Regions from separate parts of the Homo sapiens genome. Here region 2 is linked to region 1. The links are contacts of gene promoters, found by promoter capture Hi-C in blood cells and fetal thymus (Javierre and others, 2016). All regions are on one chromosome and are shown on one strand. The core of a region is centred on a gene start or on the middle of the fragment in contact, and the rest is flanking DNA. Distances in the headings are between cores, read along the strand shown. Region 1 holds the start of ACTG2 (actin gamma 2, smooth muscle). Region 2 has its middle 11 kb from the start of C2orf81.

Evidence for each region. The method cuts DNA at HindIII sites, captures the fragments that hold promoters and counts their contacts. A CHiCAGO score of 5 or more calls a contact.
Region 2: a contact is called between a fragment that was not itself captured here and the fragment with the promoter of ACTG2 in region 1, in 2 of 17 cell types (erythroblasts and activated CD4 T cells). The highest score is 6.8, in erythroblasts.

Annotation. Positions count from the first base shown.
Region 1 is chr2:73,889,810-73,896,008 of GRCh38, reverse strand. It overlaps ACTG2 (actin gamma 2, smooth muscle), which reads right to left and starts at 3,001. Exons shown (of 9, transcript NM_001615.4): 1 at 2,958-3,001. RefSeq lists an enhancer at 3,112-3,925. The HindIII fragment of the contact is 3,877 bases long and covers 1,280-5,156 here.
Region 2 is chr2:74,407,938-74,414,136 of GRCh38, reverse strand. No RefSeq gene overlaps it. Among named protein-coding and RNA genes, the nearest start is that of C2orf81, 11 kb to the left of the region's middle. The HindIII fragment of the contact is 6,860 bases long and covers 1-4,680 here.

The sequences.
Region 1 (6,199 bases), core at 1,752-4,251:
TTTCATGACCCATGGAAATTATATGACATTCAAATCTCAGAGTCTAATAAAGTCTTACTGAAACACAGCCACATCCATTCACTTACATATTATCTATGGCTGCTTTTGTTACAATGGTAGAATTGAGTACTTGTGACAGAGAACTTCAGGCTCCGAAAGCCTAAAATATTTACTATCCGGGCTTCGTCAATCCCTGTCGTCAAGGGCTGTAAAGAATAATGATTCTTATTAATCTCTCTTACTCTTCTCCATCAAAACTTGCTCCCAGGATGAAGCCTGTCATATTGAAAGGAATTGAATGATCCATTTCACACATCAATGACTATTGAAAGTTGAATTTATGTCAGTTCTCAAAGACATTTTCATTTTGACAGAAAGTGTTAGGCCTAAACGGAGGGCCTCTGCGATGATGAGATTTCAAACAATAGTTGGCGACAGGTTTTTGGGTGAGAGCTTCAAGTGACATGTAAGCAGCTGCGTCTCTGCCTTTTATTATTTGCCTACACGTATATACAAACCATCAGAAACCCTGGCAGAGAGAAATTGTCTATGAAAAACACTGCCACGATGGAAAATTCTAACAGCACCTCTAATTAACTTCAGGATATCTTCACTAGGTTCTATATATACATGAGTTCAATTAAAAACAACTCTGCTGAGTAATATTTTGGATCCTCCACAATCTGTCGTGGGTGCCTTATCTTCTGGCTCTTACCCGGACTTCCATTCACTCCCCTGGCTCTGCTCCTGTCCAGACCCCTCTCTTGAGCTCTAGGCCTGCAGAGCCTGCCGTGCATCTCCCCCACCAAAACCCCCCTGGCACCCCAACTCCACACCTCCAGGACTGCTCTCCTCATCAGCAGCCTCTGCCCGGAGCTGCCCTCACAGACTCACACCACCCACCCTGAGCCCATGCCCAATGCCCTGGTGCCGCCCTCTTCCCTCCCAACCTATCACCAGCCCTTCTTACTTCTACCTGCACGGCACCCATGCCACCAGCTCAGGACCACCGCATGCTGCAGTAGCGCTCTTGCCCTGTTCCAGTCCACTCTCCTCACAGCTGCCAAAGCAGCCCCTTCAACAGATACCCTCCAGATTAAAACCCTTCCATGGCTCCCCATAGCCTGATCCTTTAGAGTCTAAAGCCCTTGTAATCCAGCCCTGCGGACCCCTCTGAATTTAGTTTTACCTGATTCCTGCCTTGCTATCTAAATTCAGTGGAATTGAGCCACTTGAGTCCCAAAGACCATGCTTCCTCTTTACCAGGAAGGACCAAGCTTGGTCCTTACTTCAGGACCAAGCTCAGGCACCTCTTCCTCCAGGAAGTCTTCCCTGATAACTCCTGGGTTGAGTGATGGGCTCCTCCTGGCCTTTACCCCTTTCGTGTACTTATTTGCTCCATGGTTCTCATCTGTTTATCTGTCTCTTCCAGTAACTGCAGAAGCCTCTCCACTGTCCCTAAGGAGCAGAGACAGTGCCTGGCCCATAATAAGTGCTCAATAAATGTTGGCAGAATGAACAAGGGGAAAGAGGAAAGATATCTCGCCCCAAGGTCATGATGTCACACGGCCCATCCCCTTTTCTCAGGCCTGGCATGTAGGATCTTACTGTTCATTGCAGTTTCTCCAGCACCCATCCCTCTCTGTCACAGGAAGCTCTTCCTCTTTTCAGCCCAAGGGTTAGTATCAGAGTCCAAACCCACATTCAAGTAATCAAAGTGAGCACTTAGAGCCTCCCTGTACAAAGTGTGGTCCCAGACCAGCAGCTTCAGTGTCGCCTGGGAGCTTGTTAGGAATTCCAAGTATCAGGCCATATCTCGGCCTACTGGAATCAGAATCTGGGGTGGGGCATGGGGCAATCTGTGTTTTAACAAGCACTCCAGGTGATTCTTAAAGTTTGAGAACTCAGGGCCGGGCCCTGACAGCCTTGAGCTGAGTGCTGTATATACGCATTCTCTCGTTTAATCCTCACACCATCGCCAAGTAGATATTATTATTCTTGCCCCCATTTTACAGGTGAGGAAGCTGAGGTCGCTCAGTAACTTGGTTAGCCTGACAGTCTGCCTTCAAGGCCTGCACTGCCACACCCAGCCTGCCTCACCTGTGAAGAGATGCTAGTGAATTCTGATGCCAAACATAGAAGTGGCCCCTTCATCTCATCTTCCTCTTAATTCTTTGTGCATGTGTTGTGTGTGTGTTGGGTGGGTTGGGGGGAGTAATGACATCTGCAAATGGGTCACAGTTGGGTGTGAGTCTTTTGGATGAGTGGCTGTACGTCTCTAGGCCTCAATGTCCTCATCAGAGGAGAATGAACTAGATGGGTCCCAAGTTCCTTCTACCCTGAAACCTCACGATGCCACAGGGCAAGTGGAATTTTCTCCATCCCCCAATGATCCTAGAGCCTTCAAGGACTGCAGAAACCCTCCATTCTCCTCAGCCAAGCACAGATCAGAGGACAGAGAGACCCACAGGGGACCTGAAGAAAATACCCTCCCATTCCCAGCACAGACATTTCATGGACTAAACAGCTCACAGACACCAGGACCACTGTTGGCTTTGACTCAAGTATTCTGAAAAGCTGCTTTTCTGCAAAGTATATGATCCCCTAAAACAGCCTCCCAGACATTCTAACCCAAGACAAAGGACATCAGGGTGTGGATCTGCACTGGCCCTGGGGAGCAGGGCTAGTAGAGACTGCAGGCATTATATCCCGCCAGTCCCCATTCTGAGGCAGGGAGCACGGTTCCAAGCTGCCCCTGCCCCAGGATGTCCCATGGCCAGATACGCCTTTTCTCAGCAGGCTGCAGTATGCTTGCAGGTGCCGCTGCCCACCAAGGGCTCTGGTGTGTGATCTGGGCCAGCGTCACAGAAGCCAGGCCAATCTGGAGGCACCTCCCGCACCCAGGAGGCCAGGCAGCCCCGGAAAGGAAGAGGTGGCAAAAGCCGTACAGTACTTACCGAGGGTATGAGAGGTTCTTCTCCCAGTGACTGAGGGCTGGTGTGTCTTTGGCATGAATACCAGAGCAATATAAAACCCCAGAGGCGGATCTTCTTTAAACAAAGTCCCTAAAAAGGCCAGCTGACGGTGTGTTAGCAATATTACCATATAAGGTGGTTTTTTCAATAAATCGCCTTGGGGGTAGGGAAGGGGGGTGGGTAGAGTGAGTTATCATTTGAAAAATGTATGCAAAAGGACTCAGTGGCAACAGCCCCGGTGCTGGTAGATTTGTTCCTTTTATGCTGCACTTGCATAAACAAAACTCACACCAGGCCTTATAAGCTGCCCAGAGTGAGACCAGATGCAGCTGTGCTCCTGGAGTGAGAACCATACCAAGAATGGCAGCGGGCCTCCTCCGTCCACACCTCCCTCCTCAGGCCCTGCTGCATGCGGCCCCTGGGTCTGCCTGGGACGCCCAGGCACTGTCCCCAAAATGGGTGCAATCATGCCTTGTCTGGCACGAGCCTGGGACCAATGAAAGCTGAAGAGAAATGCCTTCCGTACCCAGGAAAGAAATCCTGCGTGCCCTACTCACCTGCTGCACCTTGACACAAGCTCCTAACCCTTGGGCTGAGTTCTCTGAGGGTCTCAGGACACCTTAGGCTTCATTCTCTCTTGGCTCCTTCCTGGTTTTCCTTTAAATATCTCTAAATATCTGCAGACTGAGGGACCTGCTTCAGGGTTGAGGCACACCTAACAAGACTCTTGGCCTGTAGGATTTTCCACAGTCCTGTGATTCTTGAGCTGCTTCTTTTTCTTTTTTGAGATAGAGTCTCGCCCTATCCCCCAGGCTGGAGTGCATTGGTGCAATCTCGGCTCACTGCAACCTCCGCCTCCCAGGTTCAAACAATTCTCCTGCCTTAGCCTCCTGAGTAGCTGAGATTACAGGCACCTGCCACCATGCCCAGCTAATTTTTGTATTTTTAGTAGAGACAGGGTTTCACCATGTTGGCCAGGCTGGTCTCGAGCTCCTGACCTCGTGATCCACCTGCCTTGGCCTACAGGTGTGAGCCACTACGCCTGGACTTCTTTTTGTTTGTTTGTTTTGTTTTTAATTAGACAGGGTCTCGATCTTGAACTCCTGGATTCAAGCAATCCCTCCACCTTGGTCTCCCAAAGTGCTGGGATTACAGGTGTGAGCCACCATGGCTGGCTGATGATTGCTCTTCTTTGTGTAATTCATGTACTATCCCTAGGTAGCTGGTTCATTTCCCACATTATCAGCTACCAGCTCTGCAGTATTACTTTCAACTCCACATTCTCATGGTCCCCCTCCCTCACCCTGATCCAGACTAAAATGATCAATTGCCTATTGGACATCCCAATCCAGATGACTCTCCAGCTCTTCAAACTCATCCTGTCTAAAACTGAACCCTTCTTCCCTACCCTCAAAGCTGCTGTGCCTCCTGGGTTGCCAACTTCCAAGTCCACCCCTCGGCCCTTCAAGCTAGAAGTCAGTCAGTCTAGAACCCTGTGTCTCCCTCATGCTCCCACAACCACCTGGGCACCACAGCCTGGTGCTCCCCCGACCAGAAATGCCCCTCAGCTCTGTGTCCTCCCTCAATCCCTGCTGGCCTGCGCTGCCTCAGGCTCCAGTCCTATCTGGCCTGGAGTGGGGCGCAGCTTCCTGACTGGCCTTCCTGACTCTGCTTCGTCTTCAACACAGAGGTTCCCAAAGCATGGGGACCACCAGAGTGCAGCAGCAGCATGATATGGGAATGTGCTCACAATGCAGATTCTCAGGTGTCACCTAGCCCTATTGAAACAGAAACTCAGTGAATAGGCCTCAGCCATCTGTGTTTCTTAAACTTTCCCCACCCGGTGCCCAGGATACCCCCGCTTCAATAGAAGAAGCATGCATTGCATCCCTGCTAAACGCACAGGGAGTTCCAGGTGGTTTTGGGTCACCTGGTGCAATGGCTTGGTACAGGTCTGGCTTCCTCATTAACTGAAAATTGAGGCAGGAGATGGTGTGAATGAGGAGTGTCCTCTGCTGAGACAGCCCAGAGGAAAGATTTAAAAACACTTTCCTTGAGGACCTGCAGTTGTTCCCTGTGGAGAAGGAACACTGTTGTCATTGTGAGGTTCACTTACTCATCATTTGATCACTGGCCTGCGTGTTTAGTGCCTAAGTCTAAATTCCAGGCCTGTGGAAAGCTTCCTGAGCTTTTCAAGTTCCTAGAAAACCCTCACTGGGGATTCTGGAGGGAAGAGGGCTCCCTTTCCGGAGCTGTGCTGCATAGAAGGTGGCAGTGGATGAGGTGTGAGCTGTCCCAGCATGGACAGAGTGCTCGCAGTCCCAACTGGCCGAGGCAGGTAGCTCAACGCTAAGTGACAGGGTCATAAGCTCCCCCTCTGATTCTCTCTTCTTGTGTGGGAATGAGGCCAGGGCAGGGACAGGGTGCCAATCACCCTTGACCTGATCATGGGTTTAGAGGGGTCATCCTTTCCCTTCTCAGAGTAAGGGTTGTTTCACAGAGTGAGCTTTCTTCTAATCACTCAGCACCGTGGTCAGCGTGCAGATGGGGGCACCTTGCCCTATGGACATTCCCCTCTTAGTTGGCACAGCCAGTCGATAAACAATGAAAAGCCTATAACAAAGGCACTGGTTGTGATCTAGGCTCCAAACAGCCCAGAGACGAGAAAGCAGGGACTAACTGAATAAACTGAAGCTCTGAGGAAATGTTTAGGGAGAGATCAGAAGGTGAGGGAGGTTACACCAGGTACTCGATTTGTTTATATTTAACATTTTTTTCTGGTTTCAAAAATTCAATCAAAAATTTCAAAAAATACAAAAATGTGTGTTTTAGAAAGCAAATGTTCGCTATAATCCCACTTAGACCTAAGTCAGAGAAGGCCACTGTTAAGGGCAATAGGATACCTATTTTAAAAATATTTTTTCCAGATTTTTTTCTAACATTTTAACATTATTTTACAAAAATGGGATTATGTCATTGCATATGTTTTTACAATTGTTCTGAAACTTGTCATGTTCTCTTAATAATACTCTTGGATGTCTTTCAAAATCAGTTTATATAATTTTTTAAACTCTAGCATCGTTTTCCATAGTAGGGATATACCATAAATTATTTGACCAATATCCTATTGATGGGCTCTTGGGTCATTTCCAGCATTTTTACTCATGCAAACATTGCTAACATTAATAAAACTTTGTATATGTGCCTTTGTGCACATGTGGGAG
Region 2 (6,199 bases), core at 1-2,500, 520 kb before region 1:
CTCTCACTGAACCCCAAGGGGAGCAGTTATCCTGCAGGCCTAGAAGAAGATAGAACCAGGGTTCAGGAAATAACCCTCTCGCCACCCTTAGGAGACCCTGCATTAGGGCCAAAGCTGCCCCATTGCAGAGGCATTCTAGAGAAACCCCTGTCCCCCAAAGGAGTAGACATAAGGGCTGCCAGCGGGTCTGGCTCTGTAGAGAGAACTTCGAGTCTCCTTTCAGTAGGGGAGGAAGGAGAAGGCCCCGCATAAGCACAGAGTGATTCGAGATATGAAGAACTTGATTTCTTGCTTCCCTGGTCCCTGGAGCTTGGTCACTTCACCTTAGACTGCAAATCCAAATTTCACTTTTGAAGTTAAGGAGGAACTCTCAAACTCAAACAGTATATTGAACAAACTCAAGAGTCAGTGCCTCCTTAAATTTTATCTTAGGCTCCACACCTGCCTCATTGCTAGTCTCCACTCTGCCCAGATTTATCCTGCACCCACTTCCTCCTACAGCATTTCCCCAGCAGGCCCAGGAAGTTTCTGCTATGTTGCTGTGGGCTGCACTCAGCATCCTGGTCTGGGGCGCTGGCTCTGTCTTCCTTATTCTGGTCTTCTTCAACTACATGTGCAGCTCTGGCAGAAGTCTCATCCCTGGGACCTCCAGTGCTGCTCCACAGATCTGACTGGGAAAATAGCCATAGTGACTGGGGCCAACAGTGGTGAGTGCTCCTCCCACCCTGAATCCTCACTATGGGCCTCAGCCTCCAACAACTCTCACAGGGAAGGCAGGGAGGAGCATCCACTATCAACACCCTTGTCCCTCCCCTAGAGTGTCCCTTGTTCACTGTAGTCACCACCCAGCCGAAGTTGTCCTCCCACAGGCATCGGGAAGGTTGTATCCCAGGACCTAGCTCGGTGTGGGGCCCAAGTGATCCTTACTTGTCAGAGCAGGGAATGTGGACAGCAAGCCCTGGCTGAGATCCAAGCAGCCTCAAACAGCAACCGCCTCCTGCTTGGCGAGGTGGACCTTAGCTCCATGACCTCTATTCGGAGCTTTGCCCGGAGGCTTCTACAGGAGAATCCTGAGATACATCTGCTGGTAAACAATGCTGGAGTCAGTGGTATGTGCCTGGCTTGCTTCTCCAAACATGTTTCTGCAGTCTCCTTTCTAGCTCAGGAACTCTAAAACAGGTATCCTCAAAGCCTAGTCTATGCAATCTTGCCAAAACACTAATCCATACCCTCCCCTAAAAAGCTGACATTGAGTTATAGCCTTAAACTTCATTGCCCCCATCTTCACATGTATGTGCCCCTGTGGCATTTCTGCTGAAGGTAATATGTCCCTCCCAGACCTTGTCTCCCTCAAGGTGGTCCCTTTATCACTCAATGCCAGTGTTTTCATTTCCTCCCAGGATTCCGAAGACACTTACCCCAGGGGGCCTGGATCTCACCTTTGTCACTAACTATGTTGGGCCCTTTCTGCTCACAAATCTACTCCAAGGTAAGGAAGGATGGGCACCTTCTGTGCTGCCCTCTTCCCTATACCCCTGGCATTCTAGTAACTGTCTCCCAGGACCACCTCTTGCCTCTTGGCACCCAGCTGTTTGCTGAGTGGTGACCCAACACACTTTTTGTGTCACACATCAGGGAAGCCCAGCTGGCACAAGTCAGTATTAGAAGGCTGATAGAAGAATCATTCAGCCCAAAATATAATCAGCAAGGGGATATGAGATCCCAGACCTCCTTCTCCCATCCCCTAGTTCTAGCCAGACCAGTAGAGTAGTTTTTGCAATGAAGGCTTCTTGAGGGGGACACTAGGCACCAGAAACAGAGAAAGCAAGAAGACTCAGTTTCTGTTCTCAGGGTCGGCCAGAGGTGTAGGCCATACAGATGATACAGTTGATACATTACTGCCTTGGGCCTAAGTCCTTTGAAGAGGCCCTTTCTGATTGAGAAAGTTTGGCTCCTCCAGGGAAAGTTTCGGGGAGTGGGTGGCAGGAACATTCTCTCTGACATTTTCTCCTAGATTGTATAATAGCCCCTTTATTATTATTATTATTTTTTAATTACTCATCCCCTTGCAATGTGATAGCCTCCTTAAAAGAAAAGCAATTTTTCTTTTGGTCAGGTAATACATATCCAAAGTACAAAATTGAAAGTGTACAAAAGGATACAGAGGGTTTTTTTTTTTAAACTATTTTTCTCTTCTGGTACATAAGCCACCTGTTCCCCTCCTGAGAGGCAACTACTGTTGCCGGAGTCTCACGTATCCTTTAGCAGTCAACTAAATTAATCCCAATTGGAAAGTGAACAAAGGCAAAACTCTATGCACCTGCAAGTATGATTGTTTTTGTCCCTTTCCACAAATTGTAACATGTCACGACACTATCTGCATCTTGCTTAGTGACAGTTTCTTAAACTTCTTTCCTGTCTCATCTTCTCTAATCTATTCTCCCCACTGCCACATCGAGTAATCACCTTTCATCATGACACTTTCTTGCTTAAAATCCTTTGAAGGTAACCTCTCCTTTGTAGGATGAACTCTAAGCCCCTTCTCTACACTTAGAAGGCTGTGTGCTAGGCTGGGTGCAGTAGCTCATGCCTGTAATCCCAGCACTTTGAGAGGCTGAGGTGGGCAAATCACCTGAGGTTGGGAGTTTGAGACCGGCCTGATCAACATGGAGAAACCCCGTCTCTACTAAAAATACAAAATTAGCTGGGCGTGGTGGTGCATGCCTGTAATCCTAGCTACTCGGGAGGCTGAGGCAGGAGAATTGCTTGAACCCGAGAGGTGGAGGTTTCAGTGAGCCAAGACCGCGCCATTGCACTCCAGCCTGGGCAACAAGAGTGAAACTCTGTCTCAAAAAAAAAAAAAAAACCCTCTGCTGACTAAGAGCCTTGCCTTTTGCCCTTCCTTAACCCACCTCCTAGTCTCCAGCCAGACAATCTGCAGCTCTTGGACCACGGTCTGTTTTTTTTCACCCTCTGGCTGTGTTTTTGCACATACGGTTCCTTCTATCTGGAATATCCTTTCTCATCATGTTGGCCTGGCTAACTTTAGTTCACCTGCCAAGACGCAGCACAGATATCACCTCTGCTGTGGATCTTTCCCCAACCTTCACCTCCCCCAGTCACCCCTATTTATGGGGCTCCATTAGCCCCCTTGTACATATCTCTGTGACTGCACTGATGTTGCTCTGTGAGGATCAGTCTCTCCAACTGAGCAGAGAACACTTTTGGTCTCTATGTCACTGTCTGCAAATTTAAAGTCCATTGTCTTCTTTAAGAATAATTTTCTTTCCAGCAAATTTTGGCTAAATACCACCTGCTCAGTTTCTCATTTGTAATTTGTAATTTTTAAATTTTATTTTGTATTAATTTTTTTTTCTGGGGAGAGAAGGAGCAGTGCTGGAAGCAGTCCATGCAGCAGGCTGGCCTCCCACTGAGTGAGTCTTAATTTCAAAATAGTTTTAGCATTTTAAAAACAATACTGTAAACTCATATGTGACAACAACTATTTTTTATACTTTACATAATCCAGACTTTTTTTTTTTTTTTTTTTTTTTTGGAGACGGAGTTTCGCTCTTGTTTACCAGGTTGGAGTACAGTGGCGCGATCTCGGCTCACTGCAACCTCCGCCTCTTGGGTTCAAGCGATTCTCCTGCTTCACCCTCCCGAGTAGCTGGGATTACAGGTGCCCAACACCATGCCTGGCTAATTTTTTGTATTTTTGCTAGATACGGGGTTTTGCCATGTTGGGCAGGCTGGTCTCAAACTCCTGACCTCAGGCCTCCCACCTTGGCCTCAAACTCTCGCCTTGGCCTCCCAAAGTGCTGGGATTACAGGCATCAGCCACCACACCCAGCCAATCCAGACTTTTTTGTATACTTATTGATATGGTTTGGCTCTGTGTCCCCACCCAAATCTCATCTCCAGCTGTAATCCCCATATGTAGAGGGAGGGACCTGGTGGGAAGTGATTGGGTCATGGGGGCAGTTCCCCCGTGCTGTTCTTGTGATATTGAGAGAGATCTCACAAGATTTGATGGTTTTAAAAGTGGCAGTTTTGACCTGGTGCGGTGGCTCACGCCTGTAATCCCAGCACTTTGGGAGGCCGAGGTGGGTGGATCACGAGGTCAGGAGATGGAGACCATCCTGGCTAACACGGTGAAACCCCGTTTCTACTAAAAATACAAAAAAAAAAATTAGCCAGGCGTGGTGGCGGGCGCTTGTAGTCCCAGCTACTCGGGAGGCTGAGGCAGGAGAATGGCGTGAACCCAGGAGGCGGAGCTTGCAGTGAGCCGAGATCGCGCCACTGCACTCCAGCCTGGGCGACAGAGCAAGACTCCGACTCAAAAAAAATAAAAAATAAAAAATAAATAAAAAGTGGCAGTTTTCCCCTGCCTGCTCTCTGTCTCTTCTGCCACCACGTAAGACATGCCTTGCTTCCCCTTTGTCTTCCACCATGATTATAAGTTTCCCGAGGTCTCCCCAGCCATGCAGAGTTGTGAGTCAATTAAACCACTTTTGTTTATAAATTACCCAGTCTCAGGTAGCATCTTAATAGTGGTGTGAGAACAGACTAAAACACTTATGTACTATTTTAAACATTTTTTTTAAGATTTAACTTTAGGATTTTAATTTTGTTTTTGTTTGAAACATAGTTGGTTTTTTTTTTTTTAAATATTAAGCTTGTTAATAGTTTTCCAGTGATGACCTTCCCTAGCTTTGTTTCTTTAAAAACATTTTCTCAAGTATCTCTGCACACATATTTCTTTTCCCCCAAACCTAGCACCGTTATGTCCTTAGCACCTAGCTTAGTGTCTGCCATATTCCAGGTGCCTAATGAACATTTGTGGGATGGATAAATGAAGGAATGAATGTATGAATACATGAAAGCAACTTTCACAGTGTTTCCAGCTTCTCCTTCCCCTTCTTAGCCATCAGTGAAATAAAACATATAAATGAGGATCAATTAAGGTAGCTCCAACTAGCAAGTAGAAGAAAAGAAAGGCAAAACTCCAAACACTAATATGAAAGAAGAAGAAGATCATTAGGAAGGCAGCTAATAATGAAAATGAGGTCCCAGCTAACATTAAGCTCTCCTATGCCTAGCCCAGGTTTCTGGATAGGGACCCCACTGCCCCTTCTTAGAGAGCCCTGCTCTCCTATCTTCTGGAGAAGCAGGTTGGGGAGTGAGCATGGGAGTTTACTCTAGAACTTGGATTGAAGCAGTGTGGTCCCTCCCATCTCTACCCAGGGGCCCTACGACAGGCAGGGTCAGCCCCAGTGGTGAATGTGTCTTCCGTTCGGCATGCACATGGGTACATTGATGAGGGGCACCTGACAGGCTGGAGGCCCTTTGACCTTTAACCAAAACTATGACTGCAGCAAACTGCTATTGACTTCATTCACTGGAGAGCTTGCCCAGAGACTTCAAGGAAGAGGTAACTGCCTCTGACACCCCTTACTCCACTCCCAGCACCACCTCCCAACCTTTCGCATCTCCTGCCAACATGTCCTGGCCATAAAGTACTCCCAATGTGCCCCAAACCAGCATTTTATTCCACTCCAACTATCATCTTTGTACCCTCTATTTCTCTCAACCCTGTATTCACATCATTTCAACCTTTTCCCACTCTTTTCATCTCCCACAATATTTCTTTCCTGCTGGTGTTTTCCAATACCAGCATCGTCCACCATGTTCCTCCTACAGTTCACCCAACACTTCCAATACCCATCCTTCCTTACTGGCTTGGGTACCATTAAGGTAAGCTACAGAGCACCAGTGTCCCCTGCACCACCCTCAAGTCACTGGTCAACACTACCCAACAGACTTGGTAGGATTTGCACGCTGCTGAACTACACTTAACCCCTTTTATCGGTCATCCTCCTCTCTCTTCACTTTGCACTCTCCTTGTGTCTCACCTTCTTAGGAATGACTGTGAATGCTGTGGAGCCCGGTGTTGTATACATGGGGATTATGAGGCATTTCTCTTAGCCATAATGCTTCCTCTTCTAGCTTGTCAGCTTCTTCATGAAGGTAGGTGGGGGAAAGAACTGGTTTGGCCTAGAGGAATGGGGCAGGGCTCAACTTCTCAGTGTGTCCCAGCAGGCCAAAGTTTGCCTGGCATGACTTCTTTTTCGCTTGTCCCTCCCAACAGGATCTCAAACAAGGTGTACTCCCAGTCCTCTACTTGAGCTTGGCAGAG